4 separate regions of the Homo sapiens genome follow, and all the other regions are linked to region 2. Evidence: promoter capture Hi-C in human tissues and cell types (Jung and others, 2019). All regions are on one chromosome and are shown on one strand. The core of a region is centred on a gene start or on the middle of the fragment in contact, and the rest is flanking DNA. Distances in the headings are between cores, read along the strand shown.

Region 1 (5,499 bases), core at 2,099-4,598, 460 kb before region 2:
ATGGACACGAACTCCTGTAGGGCCTAGATATTTATCAGCATGGCCAAGGCCTGGGGGACAGTTTCGAGTCTCAGCTCCAACACTTCCTGCATGCCAAAACTGCGTCAGCCTCTTTTTTTAAATAAACAAAAAACGTTTAGTCACAGAAATGTTCAAGAATATGCAAAAGTAGAGAAAATATAGTAATAAAATCCTGCTTCAGCAGTCATCAACATTTGGCTAATCTTGTTTTATCCATGTACCCTCAAATACTGTTCCGAACCCCAACTTTTTTTTTTCTTGTGACAGGGTCTCACTCTGTCATCCAGGCTGGAGTGCAGTGGCGAGATCCTGGCTCACTGCAACCGCCGCCTCCTGGGTTCAAGTGATTCTCATGCCTCAGCCTCCTGAGTAGCTGGGACTATGGGACTACAGGCACGTGCTACCATGCCTGGCTAATTTTTTGTACTTTTTAGTAGAGACGAGGTTTTGCCATGTTGCCCAGGCTGGTCTTGAACTCCTGAGCTCAGGCAACTTGCCTGCCTCGGCTTCCTAAAGTGCTGGGATTACAGGCTTGAGCCACTGTGCTCAGTCTTGATACTTTTCAATTTAAGGTAAAATACAGCATGATTTATTAGTTTTTTTTGTTTGTTTGTTTTTTGTTTTTTGAGACAGAGAGTCTAGCTCTGTCACCCAGGCTGGAGTGCAGTGGCACAATCTTGGCTCACTGCAACCTCCACCTCCTGAGTTCCAGTGACTGGCCTACTCAGTCTCCCAAGTAGTTGGGACTACAGGCACCTGTCACCACACCCGGCTAATTTTTTTGTATTTGTATTTTATTTTACTATTACTTTTTGAGGCAGAGTCTTGCTCTGTTACACAGGCTGGAGTCCAGTTGCACGATCTCAGCTCACTGCAACATACGCCTCCTGGGTTCAAGCGATTCTTGTGCCTCAGCTTCCCAAGTAGCTGGGATTACAGGTGTGCACCACCACGCCTGGCTAATTTTTATATTTTTAGTAGAAACGGGGTTTCACCATGCTGGCCAGGCTGGTCTCGAACTCCTGACCTCAAGTGATCCACCCACCCGGGCTTCCCAAAGTGCTGGGATTACAGGTGTAAGCCACTGTGCCTGGCCTGATTTTTTAAAACCTTTTAATATAATCATATAAAATGCATACATTTCCAAAGTCAAATATACAAAACAAAGTATATTTGGAGGAATAAGACTGTTTGTCTTTCATTCTATTCTCTCCCTCCTATGTCGCTATTAAAAATTTTTAATTTATACTCCCAGTTTAAAAATTTATATTTGTACCTCGCTATTTCTTTTCACAATTGAACAATGAGATAATAGACATACTTGCTTGTTCTTAACTTTAGCAGGAAAGCCTCTAGTGTTCCACCATTGAGATCTTCCTTTAAAATCCTTTTTGTAAAATTTGGGCTGTGCTATCCATTCTATCTGATGTTCCACAGCACTTCCTGGAAAGATAAAATGAACAATGTGGAAACTCATAATGAAAAGTGGTACACAAACGTGCCTGTTGACTGAGCATCAATCAATTCCAGGAAAGCTTCAAGATTCCTGAACCTTTTTGAAGCAGTTTGGAGAATTAAAAAAAAAAAAAAAAAAAGAGTAAGAAAGGATTCCTGAACCCACTTCCACTTACATTCTACACAAAAAATGAAAGGAGACTTGCAGAATTGAGGGGACCTGCCCCAAGTAACCTAAGGAGCAGGTGGGAGCTCTCATTTCCTTTTCTGCAGTTCAGGGGTCTTCTGCTATGTGGAAAAGCTCAGGGCCCAGGATAAGTCCACTGACATTAAAAATTAAAAAAACTGAATTCAAGGCTGGGTGCAGTGGCTACTGCCTGTAATCATAGCACTTTGGGAGGCCAAGGCAGCTGAACCACTTGAGGTCAGGAGTTCGAGGCCAACACGGTGAAACCCTGTCTCTACTAAAAATACAAAAAAAATTAGCCGGGTGTGGTGGTAGGCGCCTGTAATCCCACCTACTTGGGAGGCTAAGGTGGGAGAATTGCTTGAACACTGGAGGCAGACGTTGCAGTGAGCTGAGATTGTGCCACAGTCTCCAGCCTGGGCACCAGAGCGAGACTCCGTCTCAAAAAACAAAATAAAACATTGAACCCACAATACAGAGTTTTTTGTTTGTTTCTGAGACAGGGTCTTGCTCTGTCGCCCAGGCTAGAGCGCAGTGGTATGATCAGAGCTCATTGCAGCCTGGAACTCCTGGACTCAAGTGATCCTCCCGCCTCAGCCTTCCCAGTAGCTGGGACTACAGGTGAGCACCACCACCACGCCCGGCTAAAATTAAATTCTTTTGGTAGAGATTGGGAATGGTGGTGTGGAGTCTCGGTATGTTGCCCATGCTTGTCTCCAGCTCAGGGTTTCAAGACATCTTCCCGCCTTGGCCTCCCAGAGTTGGAATTGCAGGTATGCGCTACCGCACCCGTGCCAGATATCTACTTTTTATACAAATTAATATTTCAGGGAACTCTCGAAGGTAAAAGTAGTCACAAAAAGCTGCAAGAGTTGCTGTGTCCCAGAAGGGAGTCCGGGATGGGGTCGGCGACCCTCGCCCGCACTCATACAGGCCAACTCCGGTCCGAGTTTGGAGGCAACGGAACACCGGAAATGCTGTGCAGGTCTGAGTGGGAGGTCAGGGCACACTGGACCGTTACCTTAAAGCTGCCCCATTTATGGCCAGGTGCGGTGGCTCATGCCTGTAATCCCAGCACTTTGGGAGGCCGAGGTGGGCGGATCACGAGGTCAGGAGTTCGAGACCAGCCTGACCAACATGGTGAAACCGTCTCTACTAAAAATACAAAAATTAGCCGGGCGTGATGGCGCGCGCCTGTAATCCCAGCTACTCAGGAGGCTGAGGCAGGAGAATCTCTTGAACCTGGGAGGCGGAGGTTGCAGTGAGCCGAAATCGCGCCCCTGCACTCCAGCCTGGGCTACAGAGAGAGGCTCAGTCTCAAAAAAAAAAAAAAATGCTGCCCCATTTGGCGCCCCAGAATGAGGACTGACACACTGGGCAATGGGCATCGCAGCGCTAGCAGGACTAAGATTCCTCTGGGTAACTCAGCCATAGCAGAGTTTTCAAGAGGAGGAGTGGCCCTGATGAGGACCCGTAGGGCTTCAACCGACCCCAGCTCAAAAACACTTCGGCTTGGGGGCGGTGCCAAGGCTGTGAGTGCTTCCAACACTTCGGCTTGGGGGCGGTGCCAAGGCTGTGAGTGCGGAAGCCTGCCGGAAACCTGGGGACGGAGCGAGGGAAATGACGCCTGGGAGCGACAACAGGGTGGGTGGGGCTGCTGACTCCGCCCCCGAAGGAAAGGGTTAACGGTTTCCGGTAGCGGCGTCTAGGAGGGGCGGGGGAAAGGAGGCGGCAGCCAGGCTGTGTCCCCTGACCGTTGGAGCGTCTGCGACCCCCGCATCCCCGCACCCTCAAGGCACCTCCAAAGATGATGATGGGTTGTGGGGAGTCAGAGCTGAAGTCGGCGGACGGGGAAGAAGCCGCGGCGGTCCCGGGGCCACCCCCGGAGCCCCAAGTCCCGCAACTCCGAGCCCCAGTGCCCGAGCCCGGCCTGGACTTGAGCCTGAGCCCGCGGCCCGACAGCCCTCAGCCGCGGCACGGCAGCCCCGGGCGGCGGAAGGGGCGGGCGGAGCGGCGGGGCGCGGCTCGGCAGCGGCGGCAGGTGAGCGGGGGAGGCTGGCCCCCGGCCCGCGACGGCCTCGCGCCCACCTGGTCACTGCCCTGCCCTCTGCTCCCAGGTCCGCTTCCGCCTGACGCCGCCCTCCCCGGTGCGGTCCGAGCCGCAGCCTGCGGTGCCGCAGGAGCTGGAGATGCCCGTGCTGAAGAGCAGCCTGGCCTTGGGCCTGGAGCTGCGGGCCGCAGCCGGGAGCCACTTTGATGCTGCGAAGGCCGTGGAGGAACAGCTGAGAAAGTCGTTCCAGATCCGCTGCGGCCTGGAGGAGAGCGTGTCCGAGGGTGAGGGGGGCGGGCGGCCGGCCGCGTGCGGGAGTCGGGGTGAGGCGCGCCACTCACCTCCGTCCCCGCTGCGCTCTCAGGGCTGAACGTGCCGCGCTCCAAGCGGCTCTTCCGGGACCTGGTGAGCCTGCAGGTGCCGGAGGAACAGGTTCTGAATGCCGCGCTCAGGGAGAAATTGGCTCTCCTGCCGCCACAGGCTCGAGCCCCGCACCCAAAGGTGATGGGGTCTGGGCGTGGGGCTTCCTCCATGTACCCCCTTACCCGGATCCTTCCTCCCAAAGTGTAACCTTGCTTTGGGCCCAACCTCCCAACAGGAGCCACCTGGGCCTGGGCCAGACATGACCATCTTGTGTGACCCAGAAACGCTATTTTATGAATCTCCACACCTGACCCTGGACGGTCTGCCCCCTCTCCGACTTCAACTCCGGCCCCGCCCTTCAGAGGACACCTTCCTCATGCACCGGACACTGAGGCGATGGGAAGCGTAGACCCCAAAGATCCCTGGAGGGCTAGTTCGTATTTTTGTGTTAAACTATTTGTTAGAATAAAGTAATTTTGCTAATAAATGGGACTCTTCTTGGAGGCCTAAAATGGGGTTAAAAGCTCTCTAGGGGGTTATCCACTTAGCCTCAGGTTGGAAGCTGCCTGGAAGTCGGGTTTGGGGGCCTTTTTGGAACTTGGTAGAGTCATGGCAAGTGGAAAACACTGTCCACGTTAGAGGTTTACTTAGATACCCCTCCGTTCACAACCTTACCTGCCTCTCCCTGACTTCAGCCACAGCTACTGCCTGTTTTTGATCAGGTAGCGATTGTTCTCTGCATCACTTATTCTGATCTCTCAAAATGCAGAGCCCAGCCTATCACACTTCACGAAAACCTTCCATGATTACCTGTCTCAAGGAGCTTGCAAGCCAGCTGTCTGCACTGAGTTACTGAAATTATCTCCTTGCTTTTTACCTTTAAGAGCCTTGCCCATCCTGTTTACACCTGACCTGAATACTCAGTATGTTCGAAGTTCCAGTAACACCTAACAAGCCCCCGAAGAGCTTCATGTTGTTAATTGCCTGTAAGTCTGATTCCACAGCACAAAAAAGGTGCTGGCCCGTCCCTGGGCATTTGATCCAAAGCACTTTTGCCTACCTCCACCGTCAACTCTTTCCAAGTTAGCCTTCTGGCCAGGTGCAGTGGCTCGCGCCTGTAATCCCAGCACTTTAGAAGGCCGAGGCGGGTGGATCACCTGAGGTCAGGAGTTTGAAACCAGCCTGGCCAACATGGCGAAACCCCCGTGTCTACTAAAAATACAAAAAATTAGCTGGGCATGGTGGCGCGTGCCTGTAATCCCAGCTACTTGGGAGGGTGAGGCAGGAGAATCACTTGAACCTGGGAGGCGGATATTGCGGTAAGCCGAGATCACACCACTGTACTCCAGCCTGACGACAGAACAAATCTCCATCTCAGAAAAACAAAAACCAAAAAGTTAGCCTTCTGCCCAAAACGTCTACG
Region 2 (5,867 bases), core at 801-3,300:
ATCTCCCAGCCAGATTACACTTTGGCGGAGATCATTAATTTGATTAGCTAATTTTTGATCAATTTGAGCCTGAGAATTCCAAAGTCTGGAGGAGTTTTTCTGCCATGCTTCAATTCAACATATTGAACGGTTTGAACAGAATTGTGGATGGCAACTCCAGCAGTTGCTGCTGTTGCAGTAACCGCAATTAGTCCTGCAATGATGGCAATAAGAGTAAAAATAAATCTCTTTGTTCTTTTGCGGATACCTTTAAGAACTTCATTGACTATGTGAATAGAGGGGGAAGACTCCCATGGACGATGTAAAGAAACTGGTATCCATACCCCCTCCCTAGCCCTTACCAAGAGAGTACTTGTAGTGGGATTAAAAGTAGCATCAATGCACGTGAACAGCTTACAGTTATCACATTCTATAGTTTGTGTATTGGGAATGATAATTATATTTCCAACCAACAGCATGTAAGGGGGTTTGACATAGCTCCTGATGGGTATCACCCGTTCAGATATGAGGGTGATGTTGAATGTGGGTGTTTTGGTATTAGTGTGAAGGAGTTGATAGGTAGTGTTCCATATCCTTATTCCTGTCATAGCTGCAGCTAATTTTCATAGTTGAGGATGTTCTGGGGTAACAAAGGGATGAATCATTTTTGGTCTAGGAGGAGTAATGCCTGCATCCATCCATTTAAATAGGTAAGGGGACACCCATTGTCTCAGCCTGTATGACTGCCATCCATCCTCTACATAATCTAACAAATAATTAAACTCTGAGCATGAGGTATTTTTGCTGGAGCAATCTTGCCAATAATGCCCTTTTGGAGCCCAATCAATAACAATACCTGCGGCTAGACTTTGGAGCACAACGGCCTTAGGAGCATTACAATTATTCCATAAAATTGAAGTCACTATAAAAGGTCCCTTTGTAGGTTTCTTTAACCAAAAGAGAGGCTGGGCACAGTTGCTCACACTAGTAAACCCAGCACTTTGGGAGACCGAGGCGGGCAGATCACGAGGTCAGGAGTTCAAAACCAGCTTGGCCAACATGGTGAAACCCCTGCCTCAGCTTCCTGAGTGCTGGGATTATAGGCATGTGCCACCACGCGCAGCTAATTCTTGTATTTTTTCAGTAGAGACGAGGTTTCATCATGTTGCCCAGGCTGGTCTCGAGTACCTGACCTCAACCTGAGGTGATCCAACCACCTCAGCCTCCCAAAGTGCTGGGATTACAAGCATGAGTCACCGCACCCGGGCCCCAGTCACTTTAGAATAGCATGTTGCTTTGTATTCGGAGGGTCTCTCTGCAAATAGCCCATCAACACTGAGCGTGCCTGGAAAGACCTGGTTTTCAAATAACTGGCTTCGTCTGTGTAAAACGAGTCTTGTTGTATGCATTAAAAATTATCTTGGCTGGGCGTGGTGGCTCACGCCTTTAATCCCAGCATTTTGGGAGGCTCGTTCTGTTGCCAGGGAGGCTGCAAAAGGAGGATGCGGCTATTTCTGCTTCCATCATGGAAGGCTGGGATTCCACAGGCACAGAAAGGAAGGAGGGAGAGATGGGAATGTGACTGTCCTCCAGACACAGCCTCTGGCAGGATCGGATGTGGGAGAGTGAGGGTCCCACCCCAGCTGGGGTCTACCCAGGTCCATGTCTTGGACATGTTGAGAGTTTTTCTGGAAGGCAGGGATACAGTGTGGTCCAAAAACACACAAATGCCCCTACTGGCCCAGGGGTTGTCACAATAGACTGGAAGGGTGACACATCCCAGGCGCTTGCCACCCATCACACGCACCTCCTACCCACTGGCATCCTTCCACCCCAGGCACACACAAAGCCTCAGTCCAGAGATCAACTCTGGACTCAGCTCTGAATTTGCATATCCTGTGTGTAGATTCATTCTTCATAACCTCTGCCCAGCCTAGCTTGTGTATCATTTTTTTTTCTCTATTAGGGGAGGAGCCCGTCCTGGCACTCCCATTGGCCTGTAGATTCACCTCCCCTGGGCAGGGCCCCAGGACCCAGGATAATATCTGTGCCTCCTGCCCAGAACCCTCCAAGCAGACACAATGGTAAGAATGGTGCCTGTCCTGCTGTCTCTGCTGCTGCTTCTGGGTCCTGCTGTCCCCCAGGAGAACCAAGATGGTGAGTGGGGAAAGCAAGGGATGGGTGCTGGAGAGGACTGGAAGGAGGTGAGGAACAGGACATGTGGCTGGGAGACAGGCTGGATGCAGCTGGGATACCCTGGCATACGGCAGGAATGGGTGCCCAAGGCTGTCAACTCCCTCAGCTCACACACTTCCAGGAGCATTCAGGGAGCCTCTGCGCTGGCCCGAAATAAGACCTTCAGGAATCTGAATCTAAAACCCCTAGTTTACAGTGAAAACAAAGACTCCAAAGACCAAGCGACCTGCTTGGGGTAGACAGTCAGGACGGAGTAGGAACCATATGCCTGGAGCTGCTTCTGCTCCTGTTCCTTCCCTCCTTCCGATGGCTGGGTACACCTGCCTGACGCTGAGGGAAAGAGAGAGCAGCCCCAAGGGGAAAGTGGGAAGGCAGGTTGGCTGGAGGGATGGTGCTAGAAGGAAACCCGTGCCCAAATCCCACACTCAGACACCACTGCAGTGGGTCTGGAAGGCGAGTGGCTGGAAGAGAAGAGAGTGGGAGCTCCGGGAGATCAAGAGTCACTCCTAGGATAAGGGAAGGAGGCTGTTTGTGGCATGAGAATGTGCAGGATAAAGACATGGAAGCGAATGGCTTCTCAGTTGTGTGAGTTTAAAATTCATGACATTTACAAATTGTCAGAAAAGGTGTTATATGTTTGTTATATAACAATCACTTTGGAATGTTAATCTGATTCTGTGCCAAAATCTGAATTACTCAGGGTTCTCCAGAGAAACAGAACTAATAGGTGGTACACATATACATATATATGTACGTACACATACATACATACACTGTATACACATGGATACACACACACATAGGAAGAGATTTACATATATGTATACAAAAGAGAGAGAGAGTAGAGATTTATTTTAAGAAATTGACTCACACTATTGGGAGGAGTAACAAGTCCTAAATCTTCAGAGCCGGCCAGCAGGCTGGAGACCCAGGGAAGAGTTGATGTCTTAGTCTTGATTCCAAGGGCAGACTGTAGGCAGAATTCTTTCCTCTTTAGGGGACATCTGAGGCTTTTTCTCTTAAGGCCTTCAACTGATTGGATGAAGCCCACCACTATGGAGAGTAATCCACTTTACTCAAGGTCTACTGATTTTTTTGTAAATTAAAAAAAAAACTGTGGGTGCATAGTATGTGTATATATTTATGGGGTACATGAGAGGTTTTGATTCAGGCATGCAATGTGAAATAATCACATCATCAAAAATGAGGTATCCATCCCTTCAAGCTTTTATCGTTTGTGTTACAGACAATCCAATTATACTTTTTTGGTTATTTTAGTTTTTAAAAGTATTTGATTATTTATTTATTTATTTATTTTTGAGACAGAGTCTCACTCTGTCACCCAGGCAGGAGTGCAGTGGCATGATCTCGGCTCACTGCAACCTCCGCCTCCCAGGTTCAAGCAATTTTCCTGCCTCAGTCTCCTGAGTAGCTAGGACTACAGGCACCTGCCACCACACCTGGCTAATTTTTTTGTATTTTTAGTAGAGACGGGTTTCATCATGTTGGCCAGGCTAGTCTTGATATCCTGACCTCGTGATCTGCCCGCCTTGGTCTCCCAAAGTGCCGGGATTACAGGTGTCAGCAACTGCGCCTGGCCTCTCTTTTGGTTATTTAAAAGTGTACAATTAAATTATGATTATTATTATTATTTTTGAGATGGATTCTTGTTCTGTCACCCAGGCTGGAGTGCAGTGGCGTGATCTTGGCTTACTGCAAACCTCCGCCTGTTGGGTTCAAGCAATTATCTTGCCTCGGGTGTACACTGCCACACACGGCTAACTTATGTATTTTTAATAGAGATAGGGTTTCACCATGTTGGCTAGACTGGTCTTGACCTCTTGACCTCAAGTGATCCACTCACTTCAGCCTCCCAGAGTGCTGGAATTACAGGCACGAGCCACCACACCTGGCCCCAGTTAAATTATTATTGACTATAGTCACCCTGTTGTGCTATCAAATAGTAGGTCTTATTCATTCTTCTTTTTTTTTTTTTTTTTGTGACAGAGTTGCCCAGGCTGGAATGCAGTGGTGCAATCTTGGCTCACTGCAACCTCTGCCTCCCGGGCTTAAGCGATTCTCCTGCCTCAGCCTTCTGAGTCGCTGGGACTACAGGTGTGTGCCACCACGCCCGGCTAATTTATGTATTTTTAGTAGAGATGGGGTTTCACCATGTTGGCCAGGCTGGTTTCGAACTCCTGACCTCAAGTGACCCACCTGCCTCAGCTTCCCAAAGTGTTGGAATTACAGGCATGAGCCACCACACCTGGCCCCAGTTAAATTATTATTCACTGGAGTCACTTTGTTGTGCTATCAAATAGTTTTCTAACTATTTTTTTTGTACCCATTAACCACCCTCCCAATTTCCCCCCAACCCTGCCACTACCCTTCCCAGCCTTTGGTAACCATCCTTCTACTCTCTATGTCCATGAATTCAATTGTAGGGTCTACTGATTTAAAGGCTAATCACATTTAGACACTCAGGAGCAAGAATAATTTTAGTAATTGAACTAGGATTCTGCCATATGACCTCCAACATCATTAGCACCTGTGTAAATTGTATCATAAAATAATTATGGAACTATTATGGAAATGTCCCTCTCTCCCAGATCCCACCTTGTACCAAAATGCAAGGTACAACCCCGGGAATTCTGAGCTCCATCCTAGTCTTACCCTGTGCTAATTCAGTCTGGGTCATTTCTTGAATTTTCTGGTAAATTCTCCTTTCTACCCTTTCTAACTATATGTATTTGTCAGGTTAAGCTAGAAGTGTTAATTTTTTTTTTTTTGAGATGGAGCCTTGCTTTGTCACCTAGGCTGAAGTGCAGTGGCATGATCTCAGCTCACTGCAAGCTCCGCCTCCCGGGTTCATGCCATTCTCCTGCCTCAGCCTCCTGAGTAGCTGGGACTACAGGCACCCGCCACCATGCTTGGCTAATTTTTTGAATTCTTAGTAGAGACGGGGTTTCACCATGTTAGCCAGGATGGTCTCGATCTCCTGACCTCGTGATCCACCCGCCTCGGCCCCCTAAAGTGCTGGGATTACAGGCGTGAGCCACTGAGCCCGGACGAAATGTTAATTTGTTTTTTTTGAGACGGAGTCTCACTCTGTCATCCAAGCTGGAGTGCAGTGGCATGATCTTGGCTTGTTGCAACCTCTGCCTCTCTGGTTCAAGTGATTTTCCTGCCTCAGCCTCCAGCATGACTGGGATTACAGGCCCGCACCACCATGCCCAGCTAATTTTTGTATTTTTTAATAGAGATGGGGTTTCACCATGTTGGCCAGGCTGGTCTTCAACTCCTGATCTCAAGTAATCTGCCTGCCTTGGCCTCCCAAAGTCCTGGGATTACAGGCATGAGCCACGGAGCCCAGCCTAGAAATGTTAATTTCTAACGCATGTCAGATTCCATGCACACTGGGCAAGGTTCCATTCCTCCATGGGGTGACTCAGGGATCCAGGCCAATTGCATATTGAGACTCTTTCATATTATCCTGTGGCCTTCAAAGTCGTCACCTCTAGGGATGAGAAACAAAAGGGACAAGCCAGCTGGTAGGGTCTTGGACAAGAAGAAAGACATCACTTCTGCTCACATTCTCTTTTGACAAAACTCAGTCACATGGTCCCAATATATCTTCGAGGTGGCTGAGTAATGTTATCTTCCTATGTGTCAAGCAGAGGAAATAATGTAGT
Region 3 (5,441 bases), core at 1,246-3,745, 340 kb after region 2:
TCAAGGAATTAAATAGGGAATTTAAGAAATGTAGACTGCAAAGGCAGTATACAGGAAAAGGTGGAGTGGGTTTTGTTTATGAGTGTGTCTGAAAACTAAAATTAAGCGGGACATCTTGGTATAGTTGGACAGTATTGGTCCTTCACGCTTTGGCCATATTGTATAATGGAGCTTTTACCAAAGACGTATGAGAAGTGTAAGACTATAAAAAAAATGAACTATTTAAAGTAAAACTCTTGACAAACATTTTACTTAAAGCAGATGCAAAAGGTTATTCTCATGTAGGCTCCTGTTGGTGCAGAGGGATTTTTGATTTCAAGATGCAACTAAAGTACGAAGTTCTCAGTTTCACTTTAGTAGAAATAGTTCTAGAAATAAGGCTAATAAACACATCTAAGAACACTGGTTGCTTTCTAAAATTCCCAAAGTTCCACCATAAATGTAATCCTTAGTGTTTTAAATGATTGCATTTTAAGGTATATAAATATGGGTTATCCAACATCAATGCTATAGTAACATCCTGAAACAAAACAAGCACAAAGGTATAAATGCCTAAACCGGAGGAAACTTGAAACCCTCATGTTAAATCTTTTTTTTTTTTTTTTTTTTTTTTGAGATGGAGTCTCGCTCTGTTGCCCAGGCTGGAGTGCAGTGGCGCGATCTCCACTCACTGCAAGCTCTGCCTCCCGGGTTCACGCCATTCTCCTGCCTCAGCCTCCCAAGTAGTTGGGACTACAGGGGCCCGCCACCACGCCCGGCTAATTTTTTGTATTTTTAGCAGACACGGGGTTTCACCATGTTATCCAGGATGGTCTCGATCTCCTGACCTCGTGATCCGCCCGCCTCAGCCTCCCAAAGTGCTGGGATTACAGGCATGAGCCACCGCGCCCAGCCCATGTTATATCTTCAATGTAGTATTTCTAACTTGTGAAGACAGATTGGTAGGCAGCCACTTTTTTGTGTCTTAAAATAACTGGGAGCATAGTTAAAATTTTATACATCAAGTGATTGCTATTATTGAATGTTGCAGGTGAGATGTGGTTATTTTTAGTTTATTTGAAATGTCTGACTGGAAATGGGGGAGGGGGAAGGAAATATTTGAAATTTGGAAAACTCTAAACCTTTTGGTAAGAAATTGTAATTTTCACTTAAAATTTTCTTTAAGGATATAAGAGGTTTATAATTGATGTAGTTAAATTGAACAATAATCATTGGTGACTGGAGCAGGTAATTATAGCCTGCAGAAAAAAATTATAATCTAAGAATTGAAAAAATAAGATCCTGAAGTTGTTTAATTGCATCAGTTTCTGTATTTATGTGAATTTATAAACTGCAGTATGTTTTGAATGAGGTTAATCTTGTTTAATATAAGTAAATGAGTCTGTAGACTATGATCGCCCCAAACTAAAAAGTACAGTACCTGAAACTGTGTTCTTTATGGTTGTAGTGTTAGTAAAGCACTAATATGCAGAAAATAAAGGAATTACACAGTGAAAAAAAAAAAAACCAACCAGGACAGCTGCCAACAGAGAATTATCTGGCACAAAATGTTAACAGTGCAGGGGTTGAGAAACCCTGGCAAAGTTTAAGAGCAAGTACCTGCTACAGAAACATGTTGCTACCTGTCATTTTCCCTGTCTCAGAAGTGGATTAAGTCAATCTGTACTGTACAGAGGGAGGGGACTTGAAACCAGCTTATTATTATTATTATTACTATTGAGACAGAGTCTCGCTCTGTCACCCAGGCTGGAGTGCAGTGGCATGATCTCGGCTCACTGCAACCTCCGCCCCCCGGGTTCAAGTGATTCTCCTGCCTCAGGCGCCTGCCACCACGCTTGGCTAATTTTGTTTTGTTTTGTTTTTGAGACGGAGTCTCACTCTGTCCCCCAGGCTGCAGTGCAGTGGTGCGATCTCGGCTCACTGCAAGCTCCGCCTCCCGGGTTCACACCATTCTCCTGCCTCAGGCTCCCAAGTAGCTAGGACTACAGGTGCCCACCACCATGCCCAGCTAATTTTGTTTTTTTATATATTTTTAGTAGAGATGGGGTTTCACTGTGTTAACCAGGATGGTCTCAATCTCCTGACCTTGTGATCCACCTGCCTCGGACTCCCAAAGTGCTGGGATTACAGGCGTGAGCCACCGCGCCTGGCCAAATTTTTGCATTTTTAATAAAGACAAGGTCTCACCATGTTGTCCAGGCTGGTCTCGAACTCCTGGCTTCAGGTGATCCGCCCGCCTCGGCCTCCCAAAGAGCTGGGATTACAGGCGTGAGCCACCGCACCTGGCTGAAACCAGCTTATTTTTTAAGAAACAAAGGTTCTCCTTGCCTCTCAGCTGGGATAAAACAGGTACTGAAAGTATTTTAAGCATAATCAGCCTGCAGACAACACCCATAGCACACACTATGACATGGACCAAACTTTCTTGATGAAATATTTCCCCAGGACAGACCTTAGGCAGTTACCTGGTTCTACCACCACCCAGGGGAGAAAACAGAGTTTCTCTTGCAAAGGACAACAGCCTCCCTCATTACCCAGCAGCACGGCACATGCAGCCAGACACTGAAGGTGTACAGCATCATCACAATGTGAGGCAACCACAGATGCCTTGTCATACAAAAGGAGGCCCATCTATGAGTTGACCAAATACCCGTTTGACCTGGAGAGTCCCGGTTTACACCACTGTCCCAGCATAATAAATAGCACCCACTTTCACTCTCAAAAGGGGCAGGAAATACGGAACATTTGCCTGGAACATCTTGTCATGCCAGAAAGCAAAGAAGCTGTCAATGAGAATTAGGGTTATGTCAAAAGGATTCAGGAGCCAAGGTCCAGGGGCCTCCACTGGTCAAAGGTGAAATAATTTGAGCATCAAATTATAACTCCAGCAGACTGATCAATACCAAGTATGTTTAAATCCATGAGTGCAGGCCAGGTGCAGTGGCCCACACCTGTAATCTCAATACTTTGCAAGGCCAAGGAAGGGGTAGCACCTTAGCCTGGCAGTTTGAGGCTGCAGTGAACTACAATTGCACCACTGCATTCCAGCCTGGGTGACAGAGCAAGACTCTGTCTCAAAAAAACCAATAAAAGCAAAAAGCTATGAATGCATTGATTTCTACAGACTTGACTGCCTTTACAGGAAGCAAAAAGTAACTAGCTCATTATTCTGAAAACAGGCAAATAAAGAGGAGGATCAAGCATTTTCTTGCCTTCCCTGTATGAACTATATCTAAGGGTAACCTAAGTTAATGAAGGGAAATTTCTTACAATATTCCAACTACTAAATGATGAAGCATTTACAGAACTAACGAAAGAAGCAGATCTAGGCTTCTAAAATCATATGAAGAGAAACAGGGCATGTCACAATCTATAATGTGTTCTTGCCAAAATGTGAAATATGAATCTGATTACACCACTAAACACTTCTACATTTTTAGATAATACAGAAGGCAGGGAAATATGTTAAATCACGCCATGGGTATGCAAACAGAAAATGCAGAATGATTAGCTGGGCATGGTGGCACATGCCTGTAATCCCAGCTACTTGGGAGGCTGAGGCAGGAGAATCGCTTGAACCCGGGACAGGGAGGTTGCGGTGAGCTGAGACTGTGCCACTGCACTCCAGCCTGGGCAACAGAGCGAGACTCCAGCTCAAAAAAAAAAAAAACAACAGAAAATGCAGAATGTAAAAAACTCTCCAGGATAAATGATCGAGTTTTTTAAAATGAATAAATCTCAAGAAGAAAAGGATAAGTACTACAGATTATAAGCCTTAAGAGACAAAGCAACAAATTATATTATATTGAAAAATTAGGTGGGTTCTTAAAATTCACTGGATATTTTGACATTAAGGAACTGTTTTGTTTTGAGACAGGGTCTTGCTCTGTCTCCCAGGCTGGAGTGCAATGGCACAATCAGGGCTCACTGCAACCTCAACCTCTTGGGGTCAAGTGATGCCCAGCCTCAGCCTCCTGAATAGCTGGGACCACAGGCATGCACCACCCATGCCCAGTTAATATTTGTTTGTAGATGAGGTCTCACTATGTTGCTCAGGCTGGTCTCGAACTCCTCTCAAGCAATCCCACCTTGGCCTCCCAAAGTGGTGGGATCACAGGTGTAAGCCACCACACCCAGCCGCCCTTACCTTTTACAGGTACACACTGAAATGGTTATAAACAACACTTGGGATACACTTCGAAACTTCAGTGGGGGAGGAAGACGGGGAGGAAGGAGTGGACAGAGATGAAACAAGATTGATTATGAGTTTATAATAAAGTCAAATGATAAATACATAAGGATTTATTTATATAGGTTTGAAATTATCTATTATAAAAAAATTTCTAAAGAATAGAAAAATACAGAAAACAAAATATTTCTTAACATTTGAATAGATATGAAAAATCAGACTACCACAATCCCATGGGAAAAACCCCCTACTTAGAGGCTTTTCTGAGACACTGTCCTAAGCTCTTGGCCCCACAGGAGATAGGGAAGAGGCCAGATAGGAAAGTCAGCAAGGCCCAGCTCCTTCTGAAGCTTAAGATATGCCAACTTGCTGAAACCCAGAGGAATGCTGGCTGTGTATGACAAAAGAGCATCTGTGATTCAGGTAATGACAAGCAGCCCCCCGAGGCCTCCCCAGTCCCCACCTGCCTTTGGAAAACCACCCTCTGGGGAAGGCCACACTCAGGCCAGAAGCCTCCCACTGAGTCTGCCTGGCTGTCAGCCCTGCCTAGCTGCTCTGATAATTACGGGGGAAAAAAAGCTGATTTTGCATGTGGACCTCAGTATTACAGAGGAGCAGCAGCAGCCCCGTGTGGACATCTCAGATACATTTACGACCCAGTCAGTGCAGCCTCGTGGGCACAGCTAATGAGCCAGGAAGACCAAGGAGCGTCATTTGCTAAGCCAAAATTAGACACCATGCTGCCTAACAAGAACAGGTGATAAAACCACGTTTCAAAGTGGGCTGAGTAATACAGCTTTGTGTTAGTCATTACCATTTACCTTATTTACAATGGAAAATGAAAAAAAAAAATCTCAGTAAAAGAATCTGGTATTAAGAGGCATCAGAAGACAAACCACATTTTGCAATTATAGGACACTATCAACAAAGGACAAACTCACTCACTCAGCCAGGGTTCAAAGGCACAGCACAATGACACAGCAGTCAGTCCACGCTAGTTATGCAGCTTCCAGAACTTTAAACAGAAATGAAACCCTTAAGTGATGGCACAATAAGGAAGCTTCAACAGTTTACAAATATTGCATCTTCTCATTTTTAAAGAAATGTATTTTTTTTTAATGCCTACAAATATCTTTATTTTTCCTGACTTGGCACTCATGCAAAACAGGTCGCTACCAGCTCATCATCCCCAGTGGGTGTCCAGGACCCCTAGTGCCTTGGATGACAAGGGTCTGGAGGGCAGAGACCATTT
Region 4 (5,812 bases), core at 433-2,932, 400 kb after region 2:
AGGAGGATTATAGAGTGAGCAACATATTTTTATATATTTGTTGAGGGTCCCTACTGAATATTATAACACTGAACTATGAAAGCCTCAATTGCTGGACTGACAACAAGAATTTTAAATAACATTTGTCTTACTCACAAAATGTTATAAAGCTTAAGATGGAAAAATACAAAATGTTTTGACATTACCTAAAGAATCATGAACTCTTGTTAGGTATATGATGGTGGCCCTGAACTTGAGCCAACATCTGTAATCACTTTTATCAGTCAAAAAGCCATGTTCTTTTATATAGCCTGTAGACTATTAAAATACAAAAATGTGGTAATGGATAAACAACTATACACAAAGCCCTCACACTTCAAATACTGTCCTGGATTGATGAGAGAGGAGCAGAATTCAAACATTTATCTGCAATCCTAATGGTTAAAATTTTACCAGGAACAGACCTGCCACTCTCTTGAAATACTGTCTCTGAGATTAACATACGAACAGCATCATCTCTGTTGGAAGGCTACATTCCCTTATGATGCTGATTTGTGTGTGTGTGTGTGTGTGTATGGTTTTTTGTTTTTGTTTTTTTGTGTTTTTTTGAGAGAGAGTCCTGCTCTGTCGCCCAGGCTGGAGTGCAGTGGTGCAATCTCGGCTCACTGCAACCTCCGCCTCCCAGGTTCAAGCAGTTCTCCTGCCTCAGCCTCCTGAGTAGCTGGGATTACAGGCGCGTGCCACCACACCCGGCTAACTTTTGTATTTTTAGTAGAGACGGGGTTTCACCATGTTGGCCAGGATGGTCTCGACTGCCTGACCTCGTGATCCATCCGCCTCAGCCTCCCAAAGTGCTGGGATTACAGGTGTGAGCCACCATGCCCGGCCTGTGTATCTTCTTTATGTTTACCCTACCAAGAGCAGACCTGAGCATTTTGCTGGCCGTAGAGGTATATAAAAGAACTCTAAGCTTAGGCATGCAGAATAGGCACTGGATGAATGTAGTGAGGCTATTAGGAGTCTTGTTGGCTCCCTGATGTCCTTATCATGTCTTCTTCGCAGACTGTGGATGCACACAAGACAGCTAAAACCTTGGGCATCATTTGAAAATGTTTGGCTGCCTGCTACAATCTCAGGAGAGAGAATCCTTCATACTTATATTGGACTGGATATATTGTCAATCAAATTCTTTTTTAAAAAAAGATGCTTCACTTTAGGAAATAAGACACCAGACCAGCAACATCAAGTAGGTATGGAATACTTGCTGGTGAAACACTTAAAACTAGGAAACTTCTAAATCTTCTAAAGGTGCTTAAGAGAATGGAGAAGTTAATCAACAGGAATCCAAGTGTTGTGGCTGTAAAGCAATACGACATAAGATCCCTAGTAAAGAGCAGGCCTAAGAGTTGGTTTTGGAAAGAACTTGGGCCAAGAACAGCAGAAAAAGCTAAATGAGCTACTTACGTCGATGTGTTTTAATACTGGTGCATTAGCAGTATCTTATGGAAGTTGTGAACACTAAGAACCAATTTCAAAAAATATAAAAATGTTTATAGGGCATATTAAAATAAAAACAGCTTAAATGAGTTCTATAAATAAAATAGGCCCAGCACAGTGACACACGCCTGTAACCCCAGCACTTTGGGAGGACAGGTGGGAGGATCGCTTGAGGCCAGGAGTTCAAGACCAGCCTGGGCAACAAAGCAAGACCCCATCTCTGTTCTTTTTAATATCAAAATTATAATAAAAAAGTAAAAATAAACGTACCTACTTAGAATACATATTAAATAAAGGAACTCCATGAGAAAATGTCACTGCATTTACCAAGTCAACCCTAGATTTTTGTGCAATGAAAAAGATTGGGACTATGTATTAACAATTTCATAAACAAATAATCAACAATTTTCTCTCCATTATTTCGATGTTGGGTAAAGCCTGAAATGTGGTGTCGAGTTTTTCCATTTGCGTTACATCAAATTCTTGTCTACTATGGATATTCTGATATGACAAAGACTAGTTAAACTCCTATTGAAAGATCTGCCATTTACTACACCCAAATAAGTTCTCTTAGGTATAAATTCTTTGATGTTGAATGAGCGTTGGGTTATGACTGAATCTCCTCACACACATACATGCTTATTACATTTATAATCTTTTTGCATGGCGTGAATTTGATACTAAACAAGGTAGTTTCTTTGACTGATGGCTTTTTCACATTCATTGCAGCAATGGAATTTTATTCCCATGTGAATTCTCCAAATGTGACTAAGGTATGAAAATACTAATAGCATGAAAAATTTGCCACATTCAATACATTTGTAAGATTTCTCACTGGTATAGATTTGCAGGAGTCGATTAAGAGTTTAACACTAATACCTTTTCTTCATTCGTCACATTCAGAGGGTTTCTCTCTGGTGTGAATTATCTGATGCTGAGCAATGGCTGAGCTATGACTGAAGGCTTTACCACATGCAGTACATACATGATTTCTCCCTGGTGTGAACTCTCAGATGCTGAATGAAGCCTGAATTTGATAAATATCTTCCCATCTTCATTACATTCATGAGTTCTCTTTGGTATGAATGCTCTGATGTTGAACTAGATGTGCTCTCTGACTGGAGTTCTTTTCCCATACATCACAATCAAAGGCTTTCTGTCTGGTGAGGACTTCTTGTTGCAGGATAAGATCTGAGCTATGACTGAAACTGCCCTCATACTCATTACATTCATACGATTTCTCTTTCCTATGCATTTTGTGATGCTGAATAAGGCATGAGGTTTGACTGAAAGCTTTTCCACATTCATTACATTCATGTGCTTTCTCTCCTGTGTGAATTCTTTGATGCTGAATAAGATGTGAATTCAATCTGAAGTCTTTTCCACATTCACTACACGTATAGGGCTTTTCTCTGAAATGAATTCCTTGTTGTTTAATATAGGCCAACCCATATTCATCATACTCATAGGCTTTCTCTTCATGATGGACCCTCTGATGTTCAAGTAGGTATGAAGTATGGCAGAAGTCACTGCCACATACAGTACACTTACAGGGCATCTCTTTGTGAATTTTCTGATGTTGAGTAAGGTGGACACTACGACTGAAGACTCTTTCACAACTGCTACATTTGTAAGATTTGGCTCTGGTGTGAATTTTCTTATGCTGAATTATGCCTGAGCTTGGACTACAGGATTTATCAGACGCTTCACAGGATTTATCAGATGCTTCACATTTGTAAGGTTTTTCTCTAGTGTGTATTCTTTTATGTCGACTAAGACTTGAGCTCTGACTGAAAGACTTTTCACATTCTTTACATTTGTAGGGCTTCTCTCTAGTATGGATTCTCTGATGTCTAGTAAGGGCTGAGCTCTGATGGAAAATTTTCCCACATACATCACATTTATAGGATTTCTCAGTGTTAGGGATGCTCTCCCATTTATTAAGGTGGGAGAGATCCATTAAGCTTTCCTTACATTCACTACTCTGAAAATCCTCTGTTAGATTTAAGTGTTCATGTTTACCAGAGGCTGAATTCTGGTTGAAGCTCATGTCATACTTATCATTGTCATCGGTATTCTGTATTCTAAGAACTCTCTGATCTGCATCAATAGTAGAGTCCAGACTGAAGCTTTTTTCGGGTTCATGACATTCATTGTTCTTCTCACTGGTGAAGGTTTCCTTGCTGATTGTTATTTGCCTAAACTCTCTCTCCAGGTACAGAAATTTCCTTAGAATTTCCTGAAGTCTTTCTAATCTGTCCTCAGACTTATACACTTCTCTAGTCTCAGGAACTTGGGTAATATCGTGTTTGAGTCTTCCTACTCTCACTTTGTATGAATGCACTTCTTCCGAAATTTTCTGCTTAGGAATCAACAGCTTGTTCTCTTCTCTGGTCTCTCCATCTGATACAATATATAAATAGAAAATGCAAATGTAATCTGTACCCTGTGCTTAGGAAAAGAAAACTCAGATGAGAAAACTAAACAATGTAGTATCTACAAGGACAAGAAAAGTTTATTTACTCTGAAAAACAGGCACAAAATCTCAACAGCAGAAGTTAAGGGCATAAACAGGAGCAGTGAGGTAAAACAGCGGACATGTTCAGCAGAGTAAGGAAATAATAGGGAAACAGCTGAAAGAATTTTAGATAAGCAACTTGATTGGGGTCTAGTACGACATGTGCACGGATACTAAACAAATGGAAAGGGTCAACCTAACTGAAGGGAAAAGGAAGGAACTCTCCATGCTAGGACACACACAGAGCTCTTCATTCTGAGTGCCAAAGCAGCTACAACTTGGCTCAACAATTGAACTTTACTTCCCTACTAATTCTATCTGATTCTGCCTTACTCACCTGAGCAGTCATCTCTTAAGACTTCTCTAGTCTTAGTTTCCAGATCAAAGACCTGTAGATCCTGTTCCAGCTGGGAGATCCCATCAGGCTTGGAAATTGGAAATCCTGCTCATAGAGAAGGAAATGGGATGTGGCAATGTATCCCCAGGTCCTACATCTGCCACTTTTTCTTTTAACTAATGATTAAGAGAGACAGAAGGTCGATTCTGAGAAGACATTAATTAGGAAGGTCTGGAGAGTGAAGAGGGCAAAGATCTACAAGGAGCTCAGATTTGTGCTCTAGAGGGATGTGTGTTAAGGGGCAAGTTGATGACTTGGGAGCAGAAGGATTCATTTAAATATTATTCAGACAACAGAATGTGTGCATGGGTTTGTCTTCACAGAAGTTATCATTATCACTCTCCATCTGTTACCTAAAGATTAATCTTCGGATTAGATCTGGTCTACAAGTATCAAAATGGAGGTCATCAAAATGTAATTCTGCTGGACTGGAGAAAGGTGAAACTCAAGCACCTGCTGCATGGTTAGCTAACCTGTAGCAAGAGAATCAGTGAAAACTGAATAAATATTCTAAGGACCAATCTCAAGAAACAATTTGTTTCAGTACACATAAGAAAACAAAGAGTAATATGACACATTCTTACCCATTAGGAGTGTAGCATTTATTCAACAAACATTTATGAAGTGCCTCCTCTATGCAAAGTATGCAGGGGATAAGAGGCCAAGAAGGTCCCTTCCCTCAAGGACCTCACACTCTACACAGAGACAGCTCTAAACAACTAACTACAATAAAATATAGAGAGGGAAGTGCAATCAGTGCATCTTCACATAAAACAGTCTTTCTATGGCTTGCATAATGCAATGCTTGGATATAAATCTCTTTTAAAGCTAAAGCAACAGGCAGTCTGCTTCCAAGGAGACAGAATTTTAATACTATTAGTATCAAAGGGCAGTTTTTAAATGTGTCCAGCCCAGAAAGCTTCTAATAGCACACATACAAGGTCTGGCTCAAGCCCCTCATCTCCAAAAACCTTTCTCTCCATTTACTGAATGTGTACAAAATTTATTAGTTGTTCCCTCTTATCCTGACATGTCACATATAACGGTGTTTACATAGATTTTTTTTTAAGTGGTTTCAGGTATTGTCATTCATACTTGATTTATAAACTCTTTGATAGAAGGGACCAGGTATCTTGTATCTTGCAATTCTTTTGATTAATTTACTTAACGGCTACTTATTGAGTGCCAACTCTGTGCGCCCAAGTATCAATGTATTAACAGCTACCCAATTTTATAAAAAGGGCATTGGGGCTGGAAAATATGAAGAACTGACAGCTGCCCCAAAGATTCCATGTGAGAGCCTATGAGCAAGGAGATCAGAATAGATAGAAGAAAGGTATTTACTGTGTTTCTGAAATCCTGTGGGACATTTAGAGTCAACTCTCCTTGTGGACATATATTTAATTAAGGTCCACCCTGTC

Evidence for each region. Contacts are between HindIII fragments. The study calls those that stand out against the background at their distance.
Region 1: the fragment with the promoter of PPP1R35 here is called in contact with the fragment with the promoter of AZGP1 in region 2 in 1 of the 25 tissues and cell types used here (heart left ventricle).
Region 3: a contact is called between a fragment that was not itself captured here and the fragment with the promoter of AZGP1 in region 2, in 2 of the 25 tissues and cell types used here (heart left ventricle and pancreas).
Region 4: a fragment that was not itself captured here is called in contact with the fragment with the promoter of AZGP1 in region 2 in 4 of the 25 tissues and cell types used here (adrenal gland, dorsolateral prefrontal cortex, lymphoblastoid cells and 1 more).

The regions. Positions count from the first base shown.
Region 1 is chr7:100,434,346-100,439,844 of GRCh38, reverse strand. PPP1R35 (protein phosphatase 1 regulatory subunit 35) reads left to right here and starts at 3,348. Exons shown (of 4, transcript NM_145030.4): 1 at 3,348-3,704; 2 at 3,781-3,997; 3 at 4,078-4,214; 4 at 4,312-4,563. The coding sequence starts at 3,471. The coding sequence ends at 4,485. It overlaps PPP1R35-AS1 (PPP1R35 antisense RNA 1), which reads right to left and starts at 3,177. Exons shown (of 3, transcript NR_187540.1): 1 at 2,685-3,177; 2 at 1,343-1,464; 3 at 1-111. RefSeq lists enhancers at 2,255-2,757, 2,909-3,088, 2,758-3,261 and a silencer at 3,549-4,028. The HindIII fragment of the contact is 5,329 bases long and covers 1-3,857 here.
Region 2 is chr7:99,972,214-99,978,080 of GRCh38, reverse strand. It overlaps AZGP1 (alpha-2-glycoprotein 1, zinc-binding), which reads left to right and starts at 2,050. Exons shown (of 4, transcript NM_001185.4): 1 at 2,050-2,136. The coding sequence starts at 2,061. The HindIII fragment of the contact is 25,198 bases long and covers 1-5,867 here.
Region 3 is chr7:99,631,219-99,636,659 of GRCh38, reverse strand. ZSCAN25 (zinc finger and SCAN domain containing 25) reads right to left here. Exons shown (of 8, transcript NM_145115.3): 8 at 4,252-5,441. It also overlaps the pseudogene LOC442603. Among named protein-coding and RNA genes, the nearest start is that of ZSCAN25, 17 kb to the right of the region's middle. The HindIII fragment of the contact is 6,968 bases long and covers 1-5,441 here.
Region 4 is chr7:99,570,312-99,576,123 of GRCh38, reverse strand. It overlaps ZNF655 (zinc finger protein 655), which reads right to left. Exons shown (of 3, transcript NM_138494.3): 3 at 1-3,879. The coding sequence ends at 2,540. Among named protein-coding and RNA genes, the nearest start is that of ZNF655, 15 kb to the right of the region's middle. The HindIII fragment of the contact is 3,683 bases long and covers 1-3,523 here.